Regions from separate parts of the Homo sapiens genome. Here regions 2 and 3 are each linked to region 1. Evidence: promoter capture Hi-C in human tissues and cell types (Jung and others, 2019). All regions are on one chromosome and are shown on one strand. Each heading gives the region's core, a stretch centred on a gene start or on the middle of the fragment in contact. The rest is flanking DNA. Distances are from core to core; before and after follow the strand shown.

The links. The method cuts DNA at HindIII sites, captures the fragments that hold promoters and counts their contacts. A contact is called where the count stands out against the background at its distance.
Region 2: a contact is called between a fragment that was not itself captured here and the fragment with the promoter of MC5R in region 1, in 1 of the 25 tissues and cell types used here (bladder).
Region 3: a contact is called between a fragment that was not itself captured here and the fragment with the promoter of MC5R in region 1, in 1 of the 25 tissues and cell types used here (lymphoblastoid cells).

The regions. Positions count from the first base shown.
Region 1 is chr18:13,822,471-13,826,515 of GRCh38, forward strand. It overlaps MC5R (melanocortin 5 receptor), which reads left to right and starts at 1,679. Exons shown (of 2, transcript NM_005913.3): 1 at 1,679-1,804; 2 at 3,257-4,045. The coding sequence starts at 3,296. RefSeq lists silencers at 1,348-1,528, 1,494-1,783, 1,794-1,883. The HindIII fragment of the contact is 21,381 bases long and covers 1-4,045 here.
Region 2 is chr18:14,956,560-14,960,604 of GRCh38, forward strand. All of the region lies in intron 1 of LINC01443 (long intergenic non-protein coding RNA 1443), which reads left to right. Among named protein-coding and RNA genes, the nearest start is that of LINC01444, 12 kb to the right of the region's middle. The HindIII fragment of the contact is 4,662 bases long and covers 1-4,045 here.
Region 3 is chr18:14,927,770-14,931,814 of GRCh38, forward strand. It overlaps a transcript of ANKRD30B not described here. Among named protein-coding and RNA genes, the nearest start is that of LINC01443, 16 kb to the right of the region's middle. The HindIII fragment of the contact is 4,206 bases long and covers 1-4,045 here.

The DNA.
Region 1 (4,045 bases), core at 429-2,928:
GATATGGCCCCGTGCATCCTGCCCTGGCTTGCAGGGCAGTGGCACTTCTGCTTATTGTGAGTATAATGATTCTTTTGGGGGTTGAAGGTCAGTTTTAGGTGTCAGAGAAGGAGTGGGGTCCAGAAACTATTGCGAAAGGCCAGGATATTTGGTGAGAGGACATCCTTTGTTCTTTTTTGCTGGAGTAAGGAAAGCCTGTGTGGTTGATAAAGCCTGGCATGGCATGTGTAGTCCTGGAGGAGGGGTGAGAGCCTTGGGCAAAGAGGGGCGTGGTAGGGCCACAGATGAGGGCTCCCAGGCACTGGGCCTCCTTCCCAAAGAACAATCATCAGGACATCCCAGAGACCACTGTCCAGGAGAAACGGGGTGACAAGCCCTCTTTGAGCTCGGGAGCATTTTAATCAGTGCTCAAGAGGAAGAGAAAAGAAACAAAAAGTGCAACCAGCCAGAAAAACAACCAAGCAGCTACCCACCCAACCACCCATCCACCCACCCACTGACCCAACCAACCACTCCCCCACCCAACCACCTATCCATCCACCCACCGACCCAACCAACCAACCAACCAACCACCCACACAACCACCCATCCACCCAACCCACTGACCCAACCAACCAAACCAAGCAACCACCCACCCAACCACCCATCCACCCACCCACTGACCCAACCAACCTAGCAACCACTCACCCAACCACCCATCCATCCACCCACTGACCCAGCCAACCAACCAACCAACCAACCACCCTCCCAACCACCCATCCACCCACCCACTGACCCAACCAACCAACCAAGCAACCACCCACCCAACGACCCACCCACCCACCCACTGACCCAACCAACCAACCAAGCAACCACCCACCACCCACCCACCCACTGACCCAACCAACCAACCAAGCAACCACCCACCTACCCAACCAACCCCCACTTACCCAATCAACCAACCAAGCAACCATCCACTCACCCAACCAACCACCCACCCACCCAAGCAACCAATCAACGAACCAAGCAACCACCCACCTACCCAACCAACTACCCCCCACCCACCCAAGCAAGCGAGCAAGCGAGCAAGCAACCAAGTAACCATCTACTCACTCAACCAAGCAACCACCCACCTACCCAACCAACCAATCAACCAACCAAGCAACCACCCACCTACCCAACCAACCAATCAACCAACCAAGGAACCACCCACCTACCCAATCAACGAACCCCCCACCCAACCAGCCAAGCAACCAAGTAACCATCCACTCACCTAACCAATCAACCAATCAACCAATCAGGCAACCACCCACCTACCCAACTAACTAACCCGTAACCACCCAACCAACCAAGCAAGCAACCACCTGCTCACCCAACCAACCAATCACCAAACAAGCAACCACCCACCCACCCACTCAACCAACCAACTACCCAACCAAGCAACCACTCACCCAACCAACCATTCAACCGACCGACCGACCGACCGACCGACCCACCGACCCGACCGACCAACCAACCAACCAAGCAACCATCCAACCATTCAAGAGTGTGTTCGGGGGGATTTTCGCTCGGGGCTGACGCGGTTCTCTGGCCGCTGTGCCGTGCTGGGCCACTAGGTGGCAGCGGAGGCCGCCCGGAGCGACAGCCGGCGGTGCGGAGGCGGGCCCGGCGCGGGCAGGCAGGAGGCTTAAAGCCCCGCAGAGCCGCAGCCGCCTAGCTGGGGGAGAGGCCCGTCCGGGGCTGGCTCTGAGCGCCGCACGGCCGTCGGATCCCGGGGACGCCGGGGGCCCGGGCTGAGCGCCGCGGCCCGCGAGGAGGAGCACCGGTAAATAGCCACAACTTTCTATCTCCTTGAGATCCTGAGAATAAATGCAAAATCGCGCTTCCGCTGCATGTGGAAGTGAGCGGGGCGGCAGCTAGCTTGCCCCGTGAGTTTTTAACACAGCTCGATATGATGTTTAGTATAATTGCATAATTTACCGATATATCTGAGCTGGAACTCAGCTGTAACAAATGATTGTAGTTCAATAAATGCTTAGATTACCAATTTTTTCCTTTTTTATTTTTATAGATTTAGGGGGTACAGGTGCTGTTTTGTTATATGGATGTATTGCATAGTGGTGGAGACTGGGCTTTTAGTGTAGCCATCACCCCTATAGTGTACATTGTACCTATTAAGTAATTTGTTGTCCCTCACCCCCTCCCTCCCTCCCAAAGTGATTACAAATATTAATGATGACAGTGATGACAGAAATTCTCTCCAGATGTGATCTGAGTTTGGAGGGCAAAGGGATTTTTGAAAATGAATCATAAGAGAGAAATTTTGCAACAAAGGAGTGTGGTACATTTAAATTGCTGTTTTTTTTTTTAAATACTGTGCTCACGCGGACCTAATAAACTATCAAGCAGACCTCATGGAATTCCACATAATGCAGAAGCGAGGGAAAAATAGGTATTGAGGGAAAAGCAGCACTGTTTTCCTCAATTTTAACACGTATGTGCAGCCTACACTTACAAACTTAAGACAGTAGCTTTTAACATGTGACTTTGCTCAGGGTAACAGACCATTCTGGTTATAGCCTTACTTACAGCTGTGGAGGCTGAATCCTGATGGGTCTAAGAAGTGTCAGGACAAGTGTTAGGGATGCACCTGTCTGTCTGTCTTAAGGGAATACGGGTCTGGGCAGTCTTAAATCGGAGCTCCCTTGAGGAGAATGTCGTGCAGTAGCCTTAGGAATGTGAACATTGGGAGACTGGCTGGGATTTTGTAGGTTATGAGTTGGGGACACTTATGATAGTGAACTTGAGCCCAGGAGAGAAGCCATAAAAAGTGAAACTGTCCTGGGCACTTGGAGGTGAGTGTCTCTCTAGTAAGATGCATGTGAAAGGCTGGGAGCTGAAAGCAAGGAGAGCAGAAGAGGCTGGTGAAGATTCTAATCTGCGTGTCCAGGGGCACTCTTCCAGGTCTCAGGAACGCAGGTCAGAATGTGCAAGCCAGCTGCCGGGCACGTGGCTCACCCCTGTAGTACCAGCACTTTGGGAGGCTGAGAGAGAAGATCGCTTGTGGCCAGGAGTTTGAGACCAGACTGGGCAACATAGGGAGACCCTGTCTCTTAAAAAAAAAAAAAAAAAAGGACTGAGTGAGCCGAGCCCAGTCCTCTGATGCACTGTGTCATTCATCCCCTTTCTTAGGCTGTGTTGGTTCTAGGCTAGCTGCTGTCTTTCTTTGGTAGGCTGCTAACCTCTTTGGATTGTGAATTTAAAACATGTTTTACAGTAAATTTGCTGCCAAGACAAGAGGTGTATTTCTCCAGCAATGAATTCCTCATTTCACCTGCATTTCTTGGATCTCAACCTGAATGCCACAGAGGGCAACCTTTCAGGACCCAATGTCAAAAACAAGTCTTCACCATGTGAAGACATGGGCATTGCTGTGGAGGTGTTTCTCACTCTGGGTGTCATCAGCCTCTTGGAGAACATCTTGGTCATAGGGGCCATAGTGAAGAACAAAAACCTGCACTCCCCCATGTACTTCTTCGTGTGCAGCCTGGCAGTGGCGGACATGCTGGTGAGCATGTCCAGTGCCTGGGAGACCATCACCATCTACCTACTCAACAACAAGCACCTAGTGATAGCAGACGCCTTTGTGCGCCACATTGACAATGTGTTTGACTCCATGATCTGCATTTCCGTGGTGGCATCCATGTGCAGCTTACTGGCCATTGCAGTGGATAGGTACGTCACCATCTTCTACGCCCTGCGCTACCACCACATCATGACGGCGAGGCGCTCAGGGGCCATCATCGCCGGCATCTGGGCTTTCTGCACGGGCTGCGGCATTGTCTTCATCCTGTACTCAGAATCCACCTACGTCATCCTGTGCCTCATCTCCATGTTCTTCGCTATGCTGTTCCTCCTGGTGTCTCTGTACATACACATGTTCCTCCTGGCGCGGACTCACGTCAAGCGGATCGCGGCTCTGCCCGGGGCCAGCTCTGCGCGGCAGAGGACCAGCATGCAGGGCGCGGTCACCGTCACCATGCTGCTGGGCGTGTTTACCGTGTGC
Region 2 (4,045 bases), core at 814-3,313, 1.1 Mb after region 1:
CAGGCTGGTCTTGAACTCATGACCTCATGATCCACTCATCTCAGCCTCCCGAAGTGCTGGGATTACAGGCATGAGCCGCCACACCTGGCCAGGTATTTCTTTAAACACCTAAGACCAATAAATATTCCAGTCTTTGCTGAGGGAATTCTGCATGTGTGTTAAGGCATGTCTTCAATGGTTTAAAAATCTATCTTAGCCTTCACTTTCTGCTTGAACAGAGCCTGAAACTCAGCCAAAAGTGAGAGCTTAGGGCTTTCACAGATACTTTCCTGAGCATGTGCATAGCTCTACATATATTTATAGATGTCTATATTTCCATGAATATGTCTGATATTTTTAAAATCTCTGTGAACATCTTGCTTTTCAGCAGGCTCTTTTAAGCTTTCTGGTTAATATATGTTATTTGATCCAACTGTTATCCACCATATCTGGCAAACACAACATTTACAACACTTGCCTATAATTTTTTTTTTCAAATTCCCTCTCAACCACTCTTTTTGTAGATGTTTTTAACAGCGCATAAGATCTAAGTAAGGTTACATAAAGAAAATCCTTTCCAGCCCAGTTTTCTAGGGAACCACCAGACAGTTCAAATAATTGCAATTCTTTGGGAATTAGGATCTAACTCCATTCTGCTCCTTTCTGTGATAGAAATGCTGTTATTTTTCAAGACTATGACTTCACTGTGGAAGGGTGGGTGCACCTATGGCAAGTTAAAACACAAATATTGAGTTCTTGTGGAGATCTAGCCTTTTTTTAATACATGCTTCTAACATTCTTTAAGCCTTTGGTTAATTGCCTATGTTTTGAAAAAGTTGACACTGAATCTGACAATTCTTTTCAGATTTCTGTTGCTTTTATGGAGGGGGAGATTTTCAGAGGCTCTTACTTCATTATTTTTACTAATAAAATTTCACTCTGGTTATTTTAATGAAGAGAATGTAATTTAAAAACTCAATATGCCATATTTAATTGCTTTTAGCAGTTCTGTGATATATAGAGTTGTTCTACATGGGAAGATACTGAGACAAGATACCAGAAAAAATATTAAAACAAAAGTATTGTTATATAAAAGTTGCTTAAAATGCTAAAAGATCATTGATAAGAGGAAAAATGATGTTTGTGCTTAAGATCAGTGAAGTCCAACATGTTCAGTGATGTAGAGATAGATAGACTAAAATTTCCCATGGCCCCATTCACTGGAGGGTTTATTTACTCAAGCTGAGAAGTCGGTAAGACAGGAAGAACGAGGTGATCTTGGAAAGGAGACACCAAGAGGACCAGATTTATTCTCTCAGGAGGACAATGGTCTCTCCTCTTTCATCACTAATCAATGTTCCAGTGGCACCCCAAATGATAGCCTCATTGAGTCCCTCATGATTTCACCATCCCCACTCCTTGGGATGCAGGCATGTGTCACTTTCCCTCCCAGGCCTACAGTGCTGTGCCAGCTTGGTTTCACTTCTCAGACCAACACTTTCCTTAGGGGATGACAAGAGCTGAGGCTCTATATCCACAGGGACTCAATAAATGAAGAATGGAGTCAGTCCAAGAGGCAGAATGACCACTGTGATTCGGGAGATGGAGTCAGCCTTAAACTTAATATGTAGATTCATTGAACAGCTATTGGAGGACTGGCAAAGGAAAAGGGAACACTGAAATAGCAAAAAAAAAAAAAAAAAAAAAAAAAAAAACTCAAGTATTTTTTTCTCTATTAGGAATATGACTACTTCTTGAGATCCTCATAAACATTCAATGAGATAGCATGTAAAGTATTCAGCAATGAGATATCTCAAAAAGATTTACCAATGAAAGATTGTTTACTCTCTTCTTACCACCCATCATGAATAAATTGCTATAAATGTATTACCAATTGTAAATATGCATTCTAAATTTGAAGCTGCTATAATGACTACTGATCCTTTTATCTTTTCCAATGTCATGTGTATACTTTCTTTAGTCATATGATTAGACATTTTTGCATATTTAATTTTATTTTCCTATACCCCAACCCCCTCCTTATCCATGAAAAATATCTTCCTAGACTCCAGTGAATAGCTGAAATTGTGGATAGTACCAAACCCTATATATATATTTTGTTTTTTCTTATATATTCATACCTATGATAAATTTTAATTTATAAATTAAGTACAGAAAGAGATAAACCATAACAACTAATAATAAAATAGAACAATTATGATAATATTTTATAATAAAACTTACATAAACATGGTCTTTCTTTACAAATATATTATTGTACTTAACTCACCTTTCTTCTTGGGCGCTGTCAATCTGATAACCTAGACTGCTGCTATGAAGAGTAAATATGCTGGACAAGGAATGATTCATGTTCCACGTGGGACAGAGCAGGACAGCATGAGATTTTATCATGCTACCAGAAAGGCATGCAGTTTAGAACTTGTAAATTGTTTATCTCTAGAATTTTCTATTTAATATTTTTGAATCTCGTTGACCAGAGGTAATTGAAATCACAGAAGGAAAACCTCAAGTACAGGGAAGTACTGCATTAGGTTTGGCTTAAATCAAACTCCATTTACTGATGAGTTGGGCAGTTGGGAGAGGGAGTGGGTGTCCATCTAGGAATGCGTTCTCTCAGATCAGGACCATGAATGGAACTGTGCGACGTTTGGTTCATGTTTATTACTGCTTAGAAATGTCTTCAAAGCTCAATCATAGGAATAATGTCAACCCTAACTGCAGCAGTAATTAATACTTCTCTTTTTGTTGGTATTAACTTTATTACTTATTTTATAGTATTGGCCTTATCGTAAATGTTTTTGTTATAAGACAGATCTCATCCTTTTTTGGGGTTTGGGAGGTGGGAACAGTAGAACATGAAGATACATAATAAGTCCCATACAATAGTTAATAATAAGTCACCAACAGGATTATTCCTAACTCCAGCCCTCCAAATGCTGGGGCATGGATGTATGTGTGCAGGAATGGCATCAGACTAGACACAGACTGGCACAGAGCCTGCCAAGGTGAAGACAATGCACCTTATAAAACAGTTACAGTAACATCTATTGCATACATGAAAACAATTTGCAGCAGATTAAATACCCTTAAGAAAGGAGGCTACCAGACGAACCACCTCAACACCAAAGCAGGGTTTGGTCGGCATCTGACAGCGCTGTGGACAGTGGCCAGATGTGGCCCAGCGGCTCTCCTTGGATCTGACAGCACTGTGGACAGTGGCCAGATGTGGCCCCAGCAATCTGACAGCGCTGCGGACAGTGGCCAGATGTGGCCCAGCGGCTCTCCTCGGGCTGTTTCTTCCAGGAGCATGAGCTTCTTCTCTATTTCGGTGAGATTCTCTGCCTGAGTTGGCGTTCTGAGGAGCATTCAGAAATTGTTTGTTCTGAATTTCTAAAACACGAACTATTAGAAAAGGACAAAAAAAATCTACAGACTGTGGGAAAAGTTAGTGTCAAACAAATACAAAAAGGAAAAGTTGAGAACAGCAAATGGTGGCTGTGTTATGTGGAAGTGACAGAGTTGAAAAATGATGCATTGATAAAGGGACAAAAAAAATCCGGAGGAGGAGGAGAAGCAGGAGGAGAAGGAGAAGGAGGAGAAGGAAGCTAAAATAACCATTCTTGGTTTGATCTGGATTTATGTTTCTTCTTCATTAGGTTTGTTTATTGCAGCATTTCTGCCATGGTGAACTAAGTGCTCTCCATTTTTCCCTATCAGTTTCTTCTTATCCAGAGACCCTGGAGTCTTTGCCCAGGGGCCACTGCCTGGTGATGAAAGTCATATTGTTCAGCTTCCATAAACAACCTCCACTCTCATGATTAGCATTGGAAAATCAGCTGAATCTTAGCCTTTAGCTTCACAGTGTATGTCTATCTGTCTGTTTTATTTTTACAAAAGGCGGGGAAAAATTAAATACTTAAAAATAACAATTGAGTAATTTCAACAAAAGATTGTGATCAGATCAGGCTCTTGGGGAATGCAGAATCAGGACCTCTCCCTACTCTTCTCACCACTAATTGTTGCCATGCAAAGTATCGTATACTTT
Region 3 (4,045 bases), core at 853-3,352, 1.1 Mb after region 1:
AGTAGCTATCTCAAATATATGCAGCTTTTGATGCCAAGAGTCTTATACCAGCTATGTCCAGCCCCAGTAAGAAATGAACCAACAGAAGCATTTGTTCTGCAGATGTAGGCTCCACCACACGTGTGGAATTTAGGAGCTCTGTGGTGATTAAGTTTAGACTTAGGAATGAACAACTGGGTGAAACAAGACCGTGTGTGATGGTAATTTTTTTTTTTTTAGTGGAGTCTCACTCTTGTTGCCCAGGCTGGAGTGCAATGGTGCTATCTCAGCTCACTGCAACTTCTCTCTCCTAGGTTCAAGCGATTCTCCTGCCTCAGCTTCCTGAGTAGCTGGGATTACAGGCACCTGCCACCATGCCTGGCTAATTTTTGTATTTTTAGTAGAGACAGAGTTTCAGCATGCTGGCCAGGCTGGTCTCTAACTCCCGACCTCAGGCGATCTGCCTGCCTCGGCGTCCCAAAGTGCTGGGATTACAGGCGCGAGTCACCACGCCTGGCCATGTGATGTTAATTTTATGTGTCAGCCTCATTGGGCCATAGGGTGCCCAAAACAGATATTTAGTTAAACATATTTCTGGATGAATCTGTGAGGATGTTTCTGGATGATAGAAGCATTTGAACTGGTAGGCCGAATGACGAAGATTGCCTTTCCCGATGTGGCTTGGAATCACCCAATCAGCTGATGGCCTCAACAGAAAGAACAAAGTGGTGGAGGAAGGAGAACACATTTTCTCTGTCAGATGGCCCGAGTAGGGACATTGGTCTTCCCCTGCCCTCAGGCCAGAAGTTCACTATCAGCGATCCTGTTCTCCGGCCTTGGAACTGGAACTGGAACTTGTACCACTGGTTATTCTGGTTCACAGGGCTACCACTGGTCTCCTGAGTCTCCAGATTGCAGATGGAAGACTGTGAGACTTTTCAGTCTCTATAATCCTCAACCTTTCCCTCTGCCTCTCCCTCCTCTATTGGTACTGTTTCTGGAGAACCCTGACTAATATGTTAATCATGTTCTGTCAAATTTTGGTGATATATTTTTCTTAAATCTGTCTCATTGACTATTCTCAAAATCTGCCGAGTGGGGCCATTCATTGTTTCTCAGCTGAAGGACTGCAGTCACTTTTAGGTACTTCCCTACCTTTGGTCATGCGTCTCTATTCTTCATCCTTTACACAGCTGCCATTCCAGTCTTTCTAAACTAGAACTATTCCTCTGATTAAAAATGAAACAAAGCTTATTGTGACTGTAATGAAATCTGTGTACTGGACTTCTGTTGGCTCTGTGGTTCTCAGCAGCCTACCAGAACACAGAGCTTTCCAAACTCAGCCCTGGGCACATCTGTTCCTTCATCCAGGCTTTCCACCCTGCGTGGCTCTCACCCTTGTGTGTCCGTCCTTGTTTCTTAGAGGAGTCGTGTGCCTCCAAATGCATATGCCTACGACCTTTTCTTTCTCTTGCCTGAAATGCCAAACTTCATTCTCCATCAGGTGAATTCCAACTCACCCCTGAAGATGAGCTCAACTGTCTCTCTTGTGTGAAGCCTTCCCTGACACCCCTGAGAATTTTCCATCCACGTCACCACAGAGTAATGTCCATCCTCCTGTAGAACCATTCACTCATCACAGGTCTGGATGCCCATTGTTCATAGGAGGTCTTCCCCACTAGACTTCAAAGCTTCAGTGATAGGCGCTTGTGTCCCTGGCCTACACGAGGCCCTTATTCCCACTGCTCTTTTTTGAAAAAATAATAGTTTCTTCAGGCCTATATAAGCTCAAAGAGATCCCAGAGGACAATGAGTCCAATTTTTTTACTTTCCAGAATAGGATACTGGGATATTTTAATTCATGGAATTATTCTAGCATCAAACTTTACATAATAAGTATTCGTTGAGGACTTGGAGTGTACCTGTTTCTAGGTTCTAGGGAAACAGGATTGACTATGACGGGCAAAGTTACTGCCCCATGGAGTTCACCATTTGGGGATTGGTGGGTGGATAACAACGGCAACTACAAGATATGTGCATGCATGTGTGTGTGTATGTGTGTGTGCATTTCATATAGTGCTAGGTGTAATAGATAAACGAAGGTGGTGACTGGGGAAATGATCCAGGAGAAATCTCTGAGGAAATGACATTTCATCTCACAGGGTAATGAGGAAAATGAGGCAGCCAGATGGAGTCCCAGCAAAAGCAGACTTCAGGCAGAAGGAACGGCAAGTCCAGGGCTCTGGATGAGTAAGTGGCTTCCCTCACAGGTAGATGGGAAGGGGTCATGTGAGGATACTTCAGCCATGTTAGATGAATGTATTGCCTTAAGAACATCCTGAGATAAAGGGTGGCATATGCAGGTGTGTGGCTCAGGTGAGTGAATAGGGGGAAGAAGCAGGACACTGGCTCGCCAGGTGGGTTCCTCCAGAAGGCAGGCTGCATCTGCCAGGGTCCATCCCAGGCCAGTCCCTGAGAGGCTGGGCCGACAGAGAAGGATGGTGACCTGGGCCTGGATTGTCAGTGAGGCCTTCCTTGAGTGAAATATACACTAAATGGTCTCAGAAGGCCGCACAAGGGCAGGGCAGTGAGTTTCTGGGAGGAAGGTGGGTGGTGGGTGGGGTGCAGAGCCTGGGGCAGAGGGACTCCTCTGAAGTTAAATTAATGCAACTGACCCACCCCTCAAATGATTTCAGGCCATGGTCTTCTCTGATGAGGACTCCATCCCTGTAAGAAAACTAAAGAGCTGGAGAGTGGAGAGGAAGGAGAGTGTGGGATGTGAATTCTAAGCTATCAAAGAGGTTCTGCTTCCTCTAAGGCCATGGACGCTGGGTGTGCTATGGGGTAGACACACCACACTCCTATTGTCCAGCCACCTATTATACCTTCCACACCCAGGAAGTGCTGAGGCCCTTCCTGGAGTCTCCCCAACCCACACAACTGAAACAGCATGGGGTGTCCACAGGCCCTATCCACTAGGATGGCTCCTTCCCCAGCACGGTGGCTGAGCTTCCTGAGAATGATGCATCCTCGTGGCTCTGCTGGTCCTCACAGATCTCCAGGTAGAAGCTCATTGTAGAATAGCATTTGCCTTGAATGCTCTGATAATTTTCTGCTAACCTAGTTGTGGCTAATTAAAGTCAGGAGTTTGGTGCTGGCCTCACTTTGGTGCTTGGAAAACTGGGGACATTGTACTCAGCAGAGAAGTCATTGGAAATACAGACTTGCCAGTCCTACCACAGAAGATGATGATTTAGTAGAGTTATGCTGGCCCAGCAATCAGCATTTACAGAAGCATTCCTGGAGATTCCGTGATTGTGCTGCGAGGTGGCATTTGGCAGCCCTGCACCCAGAGCCCTGAAGCTCTCTTCAGCAGTAATGACCTGCCAGGCTACTGTCTTTAGTGACAGGGGATGCTACGAAGAGTGTGCATCACCCAAATGACAGCTCACCATTGACTCTTAAGATGGAAGAGACTTTAGAGGCTCTTTAGTCCAAACCTCTCATTTTTCAAATGAGGCAGAAGTGTCCTAGAGTGGAAATGTGACTTACCCAAGGTCACACACCAGAGACTAAAAATTCTAGAACAAGGACGAGTATTTTGATCTCCAGTGATCTGGAAAACTCTGCATGTCAAACACCCATTTCTGTTCCCAGCATCTGGTAACCCCTTAATTCCTGGTCACCTCCACCCCTCCTCAATGCCCAGACTTTCCGTCACATGGAAACCCACTAGGCTTTTGACCTCACATGCTGTTTCAGCAGGCATCCCCCTGTGCTGACCTTAGCTCTAGCAGTGTAAGGCGGAGCTGCCCTCCCTGAACTGACAGAGGAGGCTACAGTGTGTTGTGTGGGTGTGGGAGGCTCCAGGAAGGGCCTCAGTGCTCCCTGCGCATGGAACATAAAATAGGCAGCTGGACAACAGGAGTGTGGTGTGTGCCCCACAGCGCACACAGCATCCATGGCCTTAGGCGAAGTACAGCCCCTTTTGATAGCTCAGAATTCACGTTCCACACCCTCCCTCCTCTCTCAATCCAGCTCCTCAGTTTTCTTACAGGGATGGAGT